Regions from separate parts of the Homo sapiens genome. Here regions 1, 3, 4, 5 and 6 are each linked to region 2. The links are contacts of gene promoters, found by promoter capture Hi-C in blood cells and fetal thymus (Javierre and others, 2016). All regions are on one chromosome and are shown on one strand. The core of a region is centred on a gene start or on the middle of the fragment in contact, and the rest is flanking DNA. Distances in the headings are between cores, read along the strand shown.

Evidence for each region. The method cuts DNA at HindIII sites, captures the fragments that hold promoters and counts their contacts. A CHiCAGO score of 5 or more calls a contact.
Region 1: a fragment that was not itself captured here is called in contact with the fragment with the promoter of HMCN1 in region 2 in 4 of 17 cell types (monocytes, total CD8 T cells, neutrophils and 1 more); the score reaches 6.7 in monocytes.
Region 3: a contact is called between a fragment that was not itself captured here and the fragment with the promoter of HMCN1 in region 2, in 1 of 17 cell types (endothelial precursors). The highest score is 6.1, in endothelial precursors.
Region 4: a contact is called between a fragment that was not itself captured here and the fragment with the promoter of HMCN1 in region 2, in 1 of 17 cell types (M1 macrophages). The highest score is 5.3, in M1 macrophages.
Region 5: a fragment that was not itself captured here is called in contact with the fragment with the promoter of HMCN1 in region 2 in 1 of 17 cell types (M1 macrophages); the score reaches 5.7 in M1 macrophages.
Region 6: a contact is called between a fragment that was not itself captured here and the fragment with the promoter of HMCN1 in region 2, in 1 of 17 cell types (neutrophils). The highest score is 7.2, in neutrophils.

What each region holds. Positions count from the first base shown.
Region 1 is chr1:185,183,409-185,186,216 of GRCh38, reverse strand. SWT1 (SWT1 RNA endoribonuclease homolog) reads right to left here. Exons shown (of 19, transcript NM_017673.7): 8 at 1,873-1,974; 9 at 1,286-1,474. Among named protein-coding and RNA genes, the nearest start is that of SWT1, 28 kb to the right of the region's middle. The HindIII fragment of the contact is 1,341 bases long and covers 613-1,953 here.
Region 2 is chr1:185,733,111-185,735,810 of GRCh38, reverse strand. It overlaps HMCN1 (hemicentin 1), which reads right to left and starts at 1,420. Exons shown (of 107, transcript NM_031935.3): 1 at 764-1,420. The coding sequence starts at 1,031. The HindIII fragment of the contact is 13,332 bases long and covers 1-2,700 here.
Region 3 is chr1:186,252,936-186,255,867 of GRCh38, reverse strand. No RefSeq gene overlaps it. Among named protein-coding and RNA genes, the nearest start is that of PRG4, 42 kb to the left of the region's middle. The HindIII fragment of the contact is 1,606 bases long and covers 609-2,214 here.
Region 4 is chr1:186,304,582-186,307,281 of GRCh38, reverse strand. PRG4 (proteoglycan 4) reads right to left here. Exons shown (of 13, transcript NM_005807.6): 6 at 2,360-2,488; 7 at 1-964. Among named protein-coding and RNA genes, the nearest start is that of PRG4, 9.7 kb to the right of the region's middle. The HindIII fragment of the contact is 6,802 bases long and covers 1-2,700 here.
Region 5 is chr1:186,283,437-186,286,136 of GRCh38, reverse strand. No RefSeq gene overlaps it. Among named protein-coding and RNA genes, the nearest start is that of PRG4, 11 kb to the left of the region's middle. The HindIII fragment of the contact is 1,655 bases long and covers 435-2,089 here.
Region 6 is chr1:185,212,469-185,215,251 of GRCh38, reverse strand. It overlaps SWT1 (SWT1 RNA endoribonuclease homolog), which reads right to left. Exons shown (of 19, transcript NM_017673.7): 14 at 597-745. Among named protein-coding and RNA genes, the nearest start is that of SWT1, 57 kb to the right of the region's middle. The HindIII fragment of the contact is 9,885 bases long and covers 1-2,783 here.

The DNA.
Region 1 (2,808 bases), core at 34-2,533, 550 kb after region 2:
AATCTGCATAAGCTTTTCATATAATGAGGACACAAGAGAATTACTGCCTATTCTGAACCATAAGCTATTAGTTTAATATATTAACTCAACCAATCTTCACAACCATTTTATGACGTGGAATTTATTTCCTCTCATTTCATTTATTCAGTTTCTTCACCTTTAACTTCCCCCGGGTTATGCTATAAACCCAGGTTGATCATATTTCAAATCCTATGTTCCTCTCACTATAATAGATCAATACTATATCAAATAAATATAATTTTGCAAATAGTTAAGGACAAGGCTAAAATTATAGTCAACTAAAGCTACTTGACATGGACCATCTTCACTCAAAATTCATAAGCATTATATCTGGAATATACTAAGAACTAATAAATATTTGTTTAGACAATGAATGAATGGTAGAGACCCTTTTTCTTCAAAATTTTAAGACTAAACAAAAATTTTAGACTAAAGTAATTCATCTTAAGATGAATCTAATCATGGCTTTTAAAGCCTTCTCATAGTTAATACCATAATTGGATTCCTCTTAAGATGAATTCTTTCAAATCTTACGGTGAATATGGGTGCAGTGGACAGTACAAATCCGTGGTATTTAAAATAATGTAAGCTTACATATATAAATAATTCTGAGCTGGGAAGAAACAAATTCTGAAAGAATGAAATAAATCTTCTAAATATATATGTATAAACTCCACAGAAATAAGTGTTCCTTTATATATAGATATTTTTCCAGCAAATTATATAAAACATAAAGAACATCCTTAGCTTCTAAGACTAAAGCAATTTTTTAAATGCCTTAATAGAAACTAATATTGAAAAAAATTAAATGAGGGGAAAATCTATACACTACTTTATTGTAAAAACACCTCATTCATTATTACCGATTCTGACAAACCACAGGAAAGCAACATCGTCTCCACAGTACATTAACTGCATATGGTGATATTAACAGACTAGAAACCTAGATCACTTACAGACTTCATCACTCAGCAATGGTATTTTTAAAAAAGGAGTCCAAGGTTCTGGGATATAGATAATTATGCATACACAACTATACAGTCACTATCTGTGAAATATAGACATAATGTAAAAACGTCTAGGAGAAGCAGAAAAATAAAAGTCAAAGACTCCTAAACTAAGCCACAAACCATCACAATGCCCCTTCCATTTCACATTCCAATGGGTTTAAATGTTTTAAAAGTTTTGCACCATTTCCCTCCAATAATGAGTCTGCACCCAAACAAGTATTAATCAGGAGGCACTCTGAGAGAACAATACTTACAATGTTTTTGGGATGCAAGTTGTATTGACTGACCCCATAGCTTTCTATCTTGATTTTTGAGACTGTCGTTGATGAAATGAACTGCAGGTATAGCTTTGTGCTGGGCACGTTTTAGTAGTTTTCCTTCCTTCATACGATCTAGCTCTTGCATAACGACCCAGGGAATTATTAACACAAGTTTGTCAAAACCTAAAAAATAAAAAGATTTCTTAGAATTTAACAAACATTTATTGAGCTACTAAATGGAATTGCTGTCCAAGAGGTAAAAGTTTTAAAGCACACAGTCCCTACCTTTAGGAAATTCACAATAAATTGAGAGACAATATATTATAAAATGGAAATTAAAAAGAAAATAACGTGTCAAAAGAATGTTAAAAAAATAATTACTCTTGGAGATCAAAAAAAGAGTGAGTTCAGATTGCTAGTTTAACCTGTAAAGGCTTTTATAAACTTATAACACTGAATATGCTTAATATATAGCATATCTAAATGGAGACATGTTCATGGCAAAAAAAGCCCATCATTGTTAATATAAAATATCAACTCAAGGAAGAAAATCAGAATCTTTAAATATGTTCTGTAAATACCTGGTACTTCTGTTGTCTTCAAAATTCTAACAAATTTGAGATGATTCATCAGAATATTTGTGTCAATAACAATTAGAAGCTTTCTGTCTGAAGTATTATTTGCTAAAGAAAAAGAGCAAATATTTCATGACACTTGATAACAGACTTATATAATGACTAAAATTTTGATATTACAGAAGCATTGAAAATTCAATTAAATTTAAAACGCCTCTTTGTCTTGTTAACTGTATCAGAGATTTACACAGTTGGCTAGACTCTCAAGCTGATATCTATCCGGCCCGTATCCTTGTTGCCAAGTAAATTTCTCCCCAATCAATTAAGGTCCTCTGGATAGGAATTGCAACCCCTGTTTGGAGTGGGAGTGGGGTGGAGAATCGTCTAAGTCAAAGTGGGCAGAGAAGGTAAGGGTTGGCAAAGCAGAAATACACGGGAAACCTGGGGCCAAGACTGTGAAAAACCAGCCATGGAGAATGTTTTTGAGAGCATTCTTAAGAGAAGTCCTTTAGACAATAAAAACAAAATTGCTTTTACTTCGATTCTTAAGAGAAAGAATAGTAATCAATGTTTAATCACCCACCAGTAGAATACTATAAATTGCTTGTAGGTGGATTTTAAATTATGAACTGACTTGCCTGGGGAGTAATTATGTTTCTAACTTCTGTCATGGATCACCGGTAGTTGTGCACTTAGTAATTATAAGCTAATTTTAACATATCCTGAGTGAATATAATTGAAAGATGAATATGTGTAAAAGAAAATACATGCTGGGCTTGGTGGCTCACGCCTGTAATCCCAGCACTTTGAGAGGCCGAGGCGGGCCAATCACCTGAGGTCAGGAGTTCGAGATCAGCCTGGCCAACACAGTGGAACTCCAGCTCTACTAAAAATTAGCCAGGCATGGTGGCACACGCCTGTAGTCCCAGCTACTCAGGAGGC
Region 2 (2,700 bases), core at 171-2,670:
GTGCTACTTTAAAGAGAAACTGAAAAAAGTAAATAGGATCATATTACAGTGGAGCTGCTGAAACCTACGGCTTTAGGGCAAAAATGAAGTTATTTCACTTCAACTACCTTTAAAAAGCACAGACATTCCGAATTACAAGCAATTCTACCGCAGGAGACATGGATGTAATGTTTATACCCATCTGTGAACCTATCTAATGATGCCCTGGTGCAAAGATGAATAGATTCAGTTAAGAAATGATTGGTTTCTCTCTTTTCTTTTCATGTCTTCAGTTCCACTAGTAGTTACTACTTACAGGCTTCCTTGTGTCTCACACAACAGGTTTTTTCCCCTCTTAAATGAGAGTTACCCTCAGAGTGTGCTTTCAATCTGGATGTTAGCCCCTAGAGCTTCGCTGCTATAAATTCGTGTCCAAGTCTGCCTTCGTAATTAAACATGCTTTAGTTCTAAAATCTAAGTGAGTTAAGTGATTTTGATGTCGTTGCCCAAGATTTTTGGTTTTGTTTTTCGTAACTCCACATTTCCAGGTTTGAGGACCACAGTACAAGTTCCCTAAACAAGCCATCTCCACCAGGGCTGAGACTTAAGTAGGTATCAATGAGCAAACCCAGACGCCAGCAAGTAATTCTTTGTTACAACTATTTTCAGCTGCACATTTTTTTAAAATGGTTTTGAAACTTCCTGACAAACAATTTCATTCACAGCATGAGAAATAATGTAATCATGAGACATAGCAAAGACAAAGTATAAATATTTCCCTTACCTGGATCATGGAAAGGCACCAACGCAAAGTTGAAAAGAGGTCTTTTAGGTCTTTTCAAAGACGTCTCCAAAATTTTGGAAGCCCCTTCAATCACCTGAACTAAATCATCATACATAGAACCAGTCACATCAAACACAAAAGCCAACGTGGAGGCCCCCTCGGGAATTTCCTCAGCTCTGATCTCTGACTGGGGGCTCGCATCTTGAGCTAGGGAAGAATAAAGAAGAGCAAACAGGAATACTGTATGGACAACTTCCCAGGAAATCATTTTCTTTTTTTTCCCCCTCTTTTTCCCCCTCAGCGCCTAAGCACTGTGCTCAGTCCTCCTCAACAACAGGCAGAGGGTTTCCTCTCAGAGTAACTCATCAGACTCTTGGAATCTCTGAACTAGCAAAAAGTTTGGCGCTGAGAATCAGACGGGGACAAGCACCAAACTCGAATCCCTCCAGGGGTTGGGCAGGGCAGGGATGCGGCAGCTTTTGTCTGGATGCGGCTTCCTCCTGGACTGCTATCTGCCCGCGGGCCCTGGACAGCCTGTGGCGGAGTGCGGGCGGCGCGTCGGGTCCATGCCCCGGGGGCAGCTCTGAGCCTGCGGCGCCGCGGCCCGAATCCCGCTGCCCTCGCCGCCGCCGCTGCTCTCCGCCTGGGCCAGCGACTGAGGTTCCCAACTTTCCACTGTTTGCAGCTCACGAGCGACGAGGGGAAGCCTGGCTCGGCCTCGCCTCCTGATTGGCCAGTTGCCGTCCTCCCTCCTTTGCTCTGGAGGCCCCCCCGGAGGGTGACTTTTCCCTCCACTGATTGTAGGGTCAATTCAGTCCCAGGGAAGCGCTTACGGTGTCAGCTCGGTTCCCACCGGCACCGTTCCTAACCTGCAAAACGCTAGTGTAAACAATGGCTTTCAAGAATGTGTGGCAAAGACCCAAACCGAGGGACACCACACTAGCACAAAGGGAATTTTGTTTTTCTATTGTGTACAACGCGGCTTTAGACACCTCTTTCCTAATTCCCCCCAAAAGTCAAGACGCCCCAGCCCAGCCTCCTGCCTCTCAGCCCACAACTCGGCCCAGCCAGGAGGGGGAGCTGGAAAATTCTCTCAGCTGCGAGGCAGCCACACTATCGCTCTTTGATCTCCTCTGAGACTCTGGACTGCAGGGAAGGAAGGGAGGACAACGCTGAAGGGGCAAGAAGCCCAGGAAGAGGAAAGGGGCTGCTGAGGGAAATGAGAGACAAGAACTAGGTAGTCACTAACTGTAGAGGGGAATGTGAATACAGGATGGAAGCCCCGTAGAAAGGACAAGGAGGAGGGGCGAGAGAGGTGTGGGGAAAGATGAGACATAAAATTCATATTAAAGAGAAAATTGATTTTTTAATTGTATTATCAAGATTCACATTTGCTGAGCAGTTTGAATCCTACGCTCAGCATAGTAAGGCAGAATAATATCCCCGTTTCAGATTTCCTCCCCTGGAACAGTCATGCCTCAGGTCTCAGCCAAAGATCTATTGGAAAGGTGCTCCCCTCTATGGCATTTTCTTGCCAGTCAAGAAGGAAACCTCACCCTGGAAGACATGCCAACGTTTTTCCGTGTTGTGATTGCTATATACGTTATAGTACTAATAACAGAGATAAGAGGATAAGCAAAGAAAGTCTACCATGAACTAAGGATTCTTTATGTCATTTTAATAAAAACGCATTTCCTTCCTGGAAAAGGAGTTGTTGTCCAGATCCCAGCATTTAAAGAGGGGCAAACAGGCATCTTGATCTCTGTTTGGATGTATATTAGACCGCCCACCCAACGGAGATGCAGCCTGAGGAAGAGTTAGCTCCCACCAACCTTTTGTAATCTACAACTGTCTTCTCTTTCAGTCCCAGCGGCTGTGGAACCCGAGTTTATGATACCTATAAGTCATGTCACTTAAAGGAAGCAGACAGGCCATTT
Region 3 (2,932 bases), core at 162-2,661, 520 kb before region 2:
ATGCACATCTGTTAAAAAGGAGAGTTGTTTGCAGAGTCAATACAATTTTGCCATTACAAAATCTGCAAAGGGACATAACAACAGAGTCTCTTCCAAACTTGCAGTTTAAACATAATATTTTTCTTTACCTGCTTTCCCACTGAAATTAATTTAAATTTAAACTAAGCTAAAGGATGTTTATAGTTAGAAGGAAAATGCCCAGTTGAAGCTGTGAAGCCAACGTAGCAGAAATGGAATCTTTCCAACCTGAAATCATTTCATAGTATGATTTAATGGTGACAAAACATGAGTTCCCAGAAAAATATAATTTCCATTTCCCTTACTGCAAGTGTTCATGCAGTTTGAATTGTTAATATCCCTGAACCTAGACCAACATCAGGAAGTGCCCTGAATATAAGTGATTTTCCAGTTATTTCCTTAGATGTGGAAGGCAAAAATGCAGCAGAATACAAATGGGCCCAATCTGATTATATTAAGTGTGCCTCAGGGAAACGGCTTTGTGAGAAACCGGTATTACTATTAGAGATTATAAAGTATACAGTTAAGGACATTAGAGAAATATCATATTAACGGGAATGTTAAGAGCCATCTTAATGACTGGGGAAGCTTGGAACAGAGGCATATTTTACATAATATTAAGAAAGACATTAACTATGGGAAGCTATCAAAACAGTAAGTTAAAAAATAGGAAAGAAACTGGGGTGAAATTGGTTATATTTTTGCCTCTTGGGATTAAAGACAAAGAAACAACAATAAAAAGCAGTTTGAAATTGAACCATCTTTAGTCACTCTAAACTCCAGAGAGAGAAACTTAATTTACCAAATAGAAATCACATCTGGTCTCCACATAGAGGCAACATGTAATTGCTGACCTCTACCTGCCCGATTTCTACACTGTTTCTGGGAGAATAGCCCATCATTGTTTCCCTTCGGGGTAAGCACACCAAGCAAATATGAGCAAATTTTTGAAGGTTTCATAAGAAGCTGGTAGTGGTTTTACAGTAGGTAATTGTGTTATTCTGTTCCTATGAGCAGAGCTAATTGAGTGCATTATCCTATAGCCAAAATTTTTCCTTTAAAAACTGTGAAATGAATGAAGTTCAGTAAAGATGAATAAGGCTGGTTAAAAGTGCTGTGGAAAGTGATCATGATTTAACACTTTTAAATGCTTGGCAAGAAGGTCTACTCAGTCTTTTGTAAGGGCTCTAGCATTTGATGTGTATTACACGTTCCCAAAGAAAGGTATTTGATTTTGAATCATGGATCTGCTCGAAGACATATTCTTTTTAAAAAAAGTTGATGCCACTCCGCTACATGTTCATGGTCTTCCATGGTCACCAAAGTCCAATTTAATCTTATCTTGTGGGTGGTTATATGATATTTTTGTTGAGCTAATCATGTAGCATGGGTGGTGTGTTAGTTTCCTATTGCTGTTGTAACAAATTACCACAAATTTATTGGCTTAAAATAATGCAAATTTATTATCTTAGTAAATTGACGTTTTGAAGGTCAGAGGTCAGAAATGGATCTTCTAGGGCGAACATCAAGGTGTCTGCAGGGTTGAGTTCCCTCTTCAGGCTCTGGGGGAGAAAAGTTTCCATGCCTTTTCCAGTTTCTAGAGCTGCCTACATTCCTCACCTCCTGGCTGCATCCACTCTGACCTCTGCTTCAGTCATCACATCTGTTCTTTGACCTTCCTGCCTCACTGTTCTTGTAAGGACCCTCATGATTTTTATATTGAACCACTGTCAAAAATAAACACAGCTGGACATTAAAGCAGTGAATACAGATTTTATTCAATAACCACTGAGTGTTGGGGAAAGAGCCCAGCTCCATTCCGATGTATGCAGGGGTGATTGGGTATTTTAAAGAAAGAATGAGGGAATAGGGAGAGGGAATGTCAGGGGTTTAGCAGAATTAGGGAAGTGAACAATTACAGTAAGTGGGAAGGGGGGTTGGTGCATGTGAAACCCATCTGGGTTTGCTAACTGGCACTTGTTGAAATGTGGCTCCTGCTCTCCCACAGAGATGGGGAAACAGAGGCCAAATCTCCAGGTATTGGCTAGAACAAACAGTAAGTGATTCTGGCAGTCTTATAATCACCAAAGTTCAGTTTTTACGAGTAACTCTGTGATTATAGTGATTCTATTTAGTTTCCAAATAAATGTATTTATTCATGTAATTAAAAAACATTGAGTATTAGCTATAAAAGCTTTAATTCCTCAAGGGGTCTTCAGATAGAGACTATTTTCTTTATCCCTGACTCTCCTGTCCCTACCACAGTGCCTTGAATATCAATAATCAATAATTCTTTGACATAGGTAAGTAAACATGTTTGATGCAGCTATGAGAGAAGGAAGCACAGGGAACACTCCTATGGATATGACAACATACGGTGTGCGATTTGGGAATCAAAATATTTTGGGTCTTGGTATTGTAGCAGACGTATATACTAGGCAGTTGAGAAAATAGGATTATAAAGGGCATTGAGGAAAAACAATTTCAAGGTTGATATTGTAGAAGACAGAAGGTGAAACCCTGTCTCTACTAAAAATACAAAAATTAGCCGGGCATGGTGGCGGGTGCATGTAATCCCAGCTACTCAGGAGGGTGAGGCAGGAGAATCGCTTGAACCCGGGAGATAGAGGTTGCAGTGAGCTGGTTGCACTCCAGTGTGGGTGAAAAAGCAAGACCCTGTCTCAAAAAAAAAAAATAAAATAAAATAAAAATAAAAAAATTTAAAAAAAGAATAAACCAGGTGGAGATGGGGAAAGGCATCAGAAGAAGAGGGGAGAAGATAACAGGAAGCACACTGTAGACAGCCTCTTATGACTTTGCCACATAAAATGTTATTTAAAATGTTCTCTACTTGAATTTAAGGAGTGCAGGTTGTTTCCTCAGGTATATGAGTGTATAAATATACTTTGCCTTC
Region 4 (2,700 bases), core at 124-2,623, 570 kb before region 2:
TCCTTGGGAGTGGTGGGTGAAGGCTCCTTGGTGGTGGTGGGTGCAGGCTCCTTGGGAGTGGTGGGTGCAGGCTCCTTGGGGGTAGTTGGGGCAGGCTTCTTGGGGGCAGTGGGTGCAGGCTCTTTGGGAGTGGTGGGTGCAGGCTCCTTGGTGGTGGGTGCAGGCTCCTTGGGAGTGGTGGGTGTAGGCTCCTTGGGAGTGGTGGGTGCAGGCTCCTTGGGGGTAGTTGGGGCAGGCTTCTTGGGGGTGGTGGGTGCAGGCTCCTTGGGAGTGGTGGGTGCAGACTTGGTGGTGGTGGGTGCAGGCTCCTTGGTGGTGGTGGGTGCAGGCTCCTTGGGAGTGGTGGGTGCAGGCTCCTTGGTGGTGGTGGGTGCAGGCTCCTTGGGAGTGGTGGGTGCAGACTTGGTGGTGGTGGGTGCAGGCTCCTTGGGGGTGGTGGGTGCAGACTTGATGGTGGTAGGTGTGGGCTCTTTGGGTGTGGTAGATGCAGGCTCCTTGGGAGTGGTGGGCGTGGGCTCCTTGGGAGTGGTGAGAGCAGGGCCTTTGGTTGTAGTTTCAGCTTTGGGTGTAGGTTTAGCCAGCACTTTAGATGTGGGTGCTAAATCTTTAGCAGATGTTTTCTCTATACTTTGTGTCTCTTTAGCGGAAGTAGTCTTCTCTTTTCCATCAGTTGAAGTCTGTTTATTTGTTGTAGTAGTTTCTTTAGTTTCAACTGTTGTCTCTTTATTCACTGTCAAAGACGTCTCTTTAGATGTATCAGAATTAGGTGGAAGACTGGGTCTGGGATTTATTGGTTTTGCTGTTGTGATCTTGGGAGATGTGCTGACTTTATTGTGTTGGGTGGTAGACGTGTCAGGAGTTGTGACCTTGAAGTCACCATTGTCCAATCCACTTCCAGCTTCATCTACAACTGGTGGTTTGGGGGTAGGTTTCTTTTTAGTTCTGTTCTTCTTGTTATCTTTTACTGGAGAAAAAATATACATCTTGTTATTTTAGAATATTTTTTTTTCTTTAATAGTGACATAAAGATCCCATCTTTATCATTGACTAGTTGTGTGTTTCTAAGCAAATTGCTAATCTCTACTATGTCCTTTAATTTGTTGTAAAATGGCAAATACTCAACCTATCTTATTGGGCTGTTTTAGGGAATAAATGAGATGAGGGATGAAAAAGCACAAATAAAACTCTATACAATTAATACATGGAAGTCAGTGGCAAGTTCAAAATTACCAACACGATAAATAACACTAATTCATCTGTTTATATTAATGTTCTTTACCCCCTACTTTTTGTACTCTTATTCTTCAGTGCCCAGTGTCCCTTCCTTCCTCCTGGAAACCTAGTACTACCATCTTGCTGCACCAATTATCTCAGAGGCCTCTACAGCTACCTCTGAGCAATCTGCCCCAGTCACCCCCACAGTCCCTGCTGAGCCTTGTTCCCATACATAGGGCTATTAGCCACTCCTTTTCTTCTGCGCAGCTAACCTTGCAGGTCCCAGGGGACATAAGGAGGAGCTTAGGGTGTGATGGGCAGCAAAAAGACAGTATTTATCAAGGCTTTCCCATAGCAGCTGCCCCACATGTGGACTACAAAGCCCAAGGGTGGCTTCCTGCACGATTTTCTGGGTGACTAAAAGATTAAATGCCTGGCTATTTATTTAGAGCGAATGCTTCGGAGGAAATCACAACCTCTTAGAGTTCTTTAAAACTCCCTTATCCAAAAATCCAGTATTTCCTGGAGAAAGAGAATATATATTTAGAACCAGAACTTCAGGAAATAATAAACAGCAAAGGAAATCTCTTTTCAGGCAATAATAGCCTATTCTGTAGCACAGTCTCTACTAGAGGAAAAGTCAGCCAGATATAATATATAAGTTACTAGGAAAATAAAGAGGATTTGTAAAATATGGATAATATTTTTTCCATAGAGGTTTGTAAGAATTTAATGAGTTAATACTTGTAAAACACTTAGAACAATAGTATATAAATGTTTGTTAAAATAAAGCTGGGGAAGGGAAAATGAAAATGCAAGGAAGATGAAGGAGAAGAAGCAAAATGATGTCAAGTAAACAAGAATGACAGTAGAAAGCCATCAATAATCATCTCTGGTGCCATCTTGTGGTTCCACAGTCCTGCTACAGCATCTTCTTATCCTTTGCTTTTAGAGTGGCTTCTTAGCCGCTTGGCACTAATTTCCTGTAGGAAGTATTCATTTGGTACTTTCTAAGATAATATTCATAAAGTTATATTCCCCCCCATATTAAGATGTCCTCATTCTGCCAACACGCATTACTTTTAAATATAATCATTGTTAATATGGCATTGATACAGTCTTTGATCTTTATCAATGCTCAAACCTTTGAGTTTCTTCTGTAATTCTCTATTAGCAGCTGAATTTTTGGAAGACTTGATTTTCCGAATTGTTGAAGAAGAAGAGGAAGAGGAGGAGGAGGAGGAGGACTCTTGATTTTCAGAAACAGAATGTTCTATAAATCAAATAGAAAGTTTGATCACACCAACTGTGATTTAAAACAAAAAAGAACCACCAGTCTAAACACAGCAAGAAGTGCTATTTACTAGTCTACAAGTATCTGGATTTTGCTTTTATTAGTAATATGACCAACTGCCTTTTAATCTGTCAGTTAAAAGCAAGGCACCTGGGCTTATCACAGATACTAGCAGTATTACTAGTATCTCT
Region 5 (2,700 bases), core at 13-2,512, 550 kb before region 2:
TTTAATACTTTTCCTTTTCTTTTTTAGATATTAAAAAAATTATCTGATTAAGGATGAGAAAAATATATTTAAAAAAACAGCATGGAAACTCATAACTGCAATTGCATCAACCTTTATCATAGCTTCAACCTTTATCATGAAGCCTAAGCTAGGCTTCACATCTTGATTTTAAACTCTGGGAAAGGGAGCCATGCCTTGCTTTGGACCAATTCAACATTAAGCAGAGATTTAGTAGATGTGAGTAGTTTCTTGACTACTAGACTATTACTTATATCATCATAAAATAGGGCACAGGAATATAAAGTTTGGAGGCAAATCCAGATACAATAGAACAGTGTATAAATTTAAATATACTGTATGATACCTAATATTTCAGCATATTTAGTAAAAATCAACAGAATAACACGAGGCATTTGTCTTGTTCCACACAAGCTTTAAAAAGGCATTTTGATATACCATGGACTAATGGGAAAATGTGTATTCATAATCTAATTGGTGTACTATCATAAACTTTGAAAGCTGTTGAAAAATTCTCCTGTGGGTAAAAAGACTATTATATGGAAAATCATATAACAAAGTAACTCAAGTGTAGGCTTTGTCAATCACTAGCTATGTGAACCTAGGTAAATTATGTAGCCACTCTGGCCAAGAATACCTATTGTGGAAGGATGTTGTAATGATCCACACAGGTTAATGCATCTAAAGCACTTAGAAGAATACTAGCTGCATAATATATACTCAGCAAAAGTTAGCTTTTATTATTGGTGTTCTTTTAATTACATGAGTTGAAGAGTTATTTGGTGTGCCGTCAAATTTCATGGTAAAATGACTATCTTCAGAGACTTAACAGATTATCATATGGAAGAGTATGGCATTCTGTCATAGAAAATGGTAGAGAAGGAAAGATCCAGGTTGGAATCACAACAGTTCACTGGTATATCATAAAATATCACAGAATCTCAATCTCAACTAGATTCTCTCTACTTGCCCCTCTACCCCATCCAACCCCCAGATCAAACCTTGATGTGAATAAAGCTGAGCACCTTCAATGTTTTTAAACAATAATTATAATCTGTAAATACAGCATTTTTATGTTTTTTAACTTTTGTGACAATTTCTGAAGAAGTACAAAGGGGATTTTTGTTGTTGTTTTTCAGGAACACCTGCTAACTCACTGGTTCTCTCCTCCATTCTCCATAGCTGACCCAAATATTTTATGACAGTGATTATAATGATAAATAATTAGGATGTATATATGATAAAATAACACTTAACTATTCATATTGGCCACTATAAAGTTTAAAACTCAATTTATGGCTTAGATCTAATAAGAGTCTCTTGAGTCACATAATTGTTCTATAAAGTAGTGTGTAATTCAAATGCTTCAATAAAATAAATTCTCTGGGAGGAAATAAAATAGACGTAGGAGATATGTTCAGATACGTTTTATTAATACCATTCATCTTCTTGTCTGTCATATAAAATTTGTACCAACAGTGGTTTTTGAGAAAGCAAATATAATGGATTCAATGTTCATGTCCCCCCTCCAAATTCATATGCTGAAATCCTAACTCCCAGTATAATGGTATTGGGAGCTGGGGCCTTTGGAGGTAATTTAGGTTGTGATGGTGGAGCTCTTATGAATGGGATTAGTGTGCCCACTAATGGAAAAGAGACCTCAGAGAGTTCTCTACCCCTGCTCCCACCATCTAAAGATACAAAAAGAAGTCAGTAGTCTGCAGCTTGGAAGAGGTCCCTCACCAGAGGCCAACTCTACTGGCACCCTCATTGGAAACTTCCAGCTTCCAGAGCTGTGAGAAATAAATTTCTATCGTTTATATGCCACCCAATATACAGTACTTTGTTATAACATCTCAAATTGACTAAGACAGCAAGTAGATTAAACATGTTAATGATATGAATGTAAAAATTAGGACAATCTCCAATCAATATCCAAATGATAGCCTACAAACAAACCTGGGGAGGAAAGAGTAAGGAAACAACTGTCACAGAAACATCACTGAAATAAATTTAAAATGTAGCATCTGTTAGTTTAAGTTTTAGCATGGAAATTGAGGAAGAGAAAGCTTGTGTTCTCTTTGTCCTGGGCACACAGTTGGATTGCATTTACCAGCATTCTATATAATTGGGGCGGGGGCCACATGATTGTGTAATGGATTGTGGGCAGAAGTGATGTACACCTCTTTTATTTTGGATGAAGTGGAGGACTCCAGTGCCCTAGATGATGGCAGAGCCACTTCATGGGAGAAGTCTGGATCCATGGATGACCATCAACCAGAGGCTCCCCTCTCCTCTTCCCTGCATTGGACTGTGCCATGAAGCATAAATAAACTTTAATTGTGTATTAAAAATATGAGAGGAGTTATTTTTTTCTTAAATGGCAGTTAGCATAGCCTGACTAAAACAGAAATCTTACAAAACTAGTAAAACATAAATTGAATTTTCTTCTGGAGTACACCCTTGAGATAAAATAGAAAAACACTCCCATCTCTGGTGAGTAATTTTATGAAGTGCCTGTGGCACTTGGTAAAAAGAGGCTGCTGAGTGGAAAATCCCCTTACATCAAGCTGTGAGTAGCTTAGTTATCCGAAACTGATCCTCAACTTCCCCGTTTTGGAAACCTTAAAATGTGATGAGCAGTTTCAATGATACTATTCCACGTGGTATTACATTTTTTTA
Region 6 (2,783 bases), core at 195-2,694, 520 kb after region 2:
GGTAGATAGATGGACAGACAGACAGGTGGGTAGGTAGAGAAAGAAAACAATAAAGCAAATGTGACAAAATATTAACATTTGGAGAATCAGGGTAAATAATATATATGGGAATTCTTTGTACTGCTCTTGTAACCATTTTATAAGTTTGAAATTATTTCAAAATAAAAAGTAAAACAAGGACAACAACATTACCAAGTAACACTGTCAAAAAATAGATTCAATAGGGTTTCAGACAGTGTTGACATCTGTATGTTTAAAACAATTTCCTAGGTATTTTTGATGTATGTGAGATCCACTGGCCTAGGGCACTGTAAATGAACAGTCAAATAGCATGCATAGCTTTCTTCCATCCATAAGTGAAAATAATATAAAATAAGAACAACTGCTGTGACACTGCTTCCATAAAAGGAGGTATGGGTTTTATAACTTGTTAGAGTTGCTTACTCTGTATTCAATTCACTTAACATTTACTTAACGCCTTTAGTATGTTAGAATAAGTTAGAATTAAATTATCCTTTACCTACTGTTGTCTGCTAAACACATTTTCAGAACATGTATAATTAGCTACTCTAACTGGCATTCCAAAGGCATCTTACCTCTGCAAATGTCTGAAGGAGGTTGTTTACTTGAGCAAAGGTCTGTGGAAGAATACCATCATAATTTGACCTTGTACTGAAAGCATGTAACAAACTTCTAGAATCCTGAAGCAAGAATTTGACTGTTGTAAAATCCACTGCCTTATTAGCTGGTAACAGAAAATTAAGACAGAAAAATATGGAAGAATGAGTATACATCATAAAAATGTCTTTGGAACACTAATATTAATTTTGAAATTTAAAAAGAGTATACATTTATACCTATATGCCACTCCTAAGTTATCCCTCTGGTACAAAAAGCAATAATTAAATAGATTTAGTTATAGATAAAGTCCTTTGAGTTGATTCTGGTATTCTGAATTCAGATTTCAGGAGTTCTGTCAGCACGGTCAACTTCAAAGTAAAAGTAAAGTTAAAGAATATTACACTCCCCAGAAAAAAGAGAAAATCACCAAAGAAACAAGTCAAACCACAGATTTCAATGCTGAGGTGATTTCACATAAGAGTACTGTGGAGAGATCAGAAGAGTGAGACTACACTGGTAAGCATGTCAGTTATATATGGTACCTCTCGTCATCACCTCAGCTATCTACATAGTGATTTATCTTCAACTCCATTGCATGAAACTCAATACTATGTTTATTGAAAACTATGAGTTATCTCTATATGTACAACACAACTTCAGGAGAGAAAAAAAGTTTGGGCAACAGTGAGAAGCAAAAGAAGCCTGCAGAATTTTTTTCCTGTAAATTAAAAGTGAGAAAATCTACAAACAATAATTTAAAGGTATAACAATTTTATCTCAAGGAACTAAAACTAATTACATTAACTTCTCAAACTAGTTGGGAAAGCTGGTGACAATAATTTCAAAAATTTCAAAAGTTATAAACAATAAAATTAAGTAATATCATAAAACTCAGAACAGAAAAAATTATTTCCATTATTAAAGCAGAATGCTACCTAACAGTTTTCAAAATAACCATGCTATACTGTTGTTTACTTTTTGTTTTAATGTTCACAGTTTCAGAGACTCTATTGTATTCTGAAATATCAGCATGGCTGTTCAATGGCACTATGAGTTTAAAAAACAATAAGGAGTTTCTCTGTATCACTTACACAAGAACTTGCTTGTGAAATCCTGAAGGGTCAAGTGAAATAAAAACTATATCTTAATAATTAATTCCACAATATTCAGAAACTCTAATCTAATGTAATGGTTGTAGCCAAGCCTCTGGCTTCTCCTTTATCCAAAAATATAAAAAATAATAATAAAGCAAGCCAATGTATTTCCTTACAGGAAAACTTTCATTTCTTTTTAAAGCCAATGACTAGTTTAAATTCCTGTGGGTAATGAGAGATGCTACACACAGGACAGACTGTAGATGTGATGAACTACGTAAATCCCCTGAGGAAGATATAATTGGACACAACTTCTTTTAAGGGTGCTTTTCCAATGTAACATATGTTTAATGAGGCTTACATATATGAATTAATCATTTTATTTCTGTCTTACAAAAGTTCCTAAGATTATGAGGAAAAGGGTAATAACAATAATAAATCCAGTATACAGACACAACAAAAAAAGAAATCTACATGAATGAAATAGTCTAATGCTTATATAAGGCCAATAATTATTTAAAGCTAATATGGGTAACAAAGTCATAAAAGTTACTAGTCATTTTCCACACAATTTTCTATGAACTAATCTAAGGATACATGCGTGGTATTCTCAAGTTAAACAAATATATAATTCAACAGCTGAAGGTATTATTAAAAGATAGTACACAAGAACATAAACTGTGATTTTTCTCATTCAAAATTATCTTACAGCAAGAAGTTTTTTTTTTTTTTTGAGACAGAGTTTCACTCTTGTTGCCCAGGCTGGAGTGCAATGGCGCAATCTCGGCTCACTGCAACCTCCACCTCCCGGGTTCAAGTGATTCTCCTCCCTCAGCCTCCCGAGTAGCTGGGATTATAGGCACCCACCACCACGCCCAGCTATTTTTTTTGGATTTTTAGTAAAGACAGGGTTTCACCATGTTGGCCACGCTGGCAATGAACTCCTGGCAAGAGGTACTTTTATAATCCCATGACATATTCTTCATAACTCATTAAACGTTAGGCATCAGATTCTTCGAGATCAAAGACCAATAAACTATAATGATCACAAAACTGATTTTTCAGCAG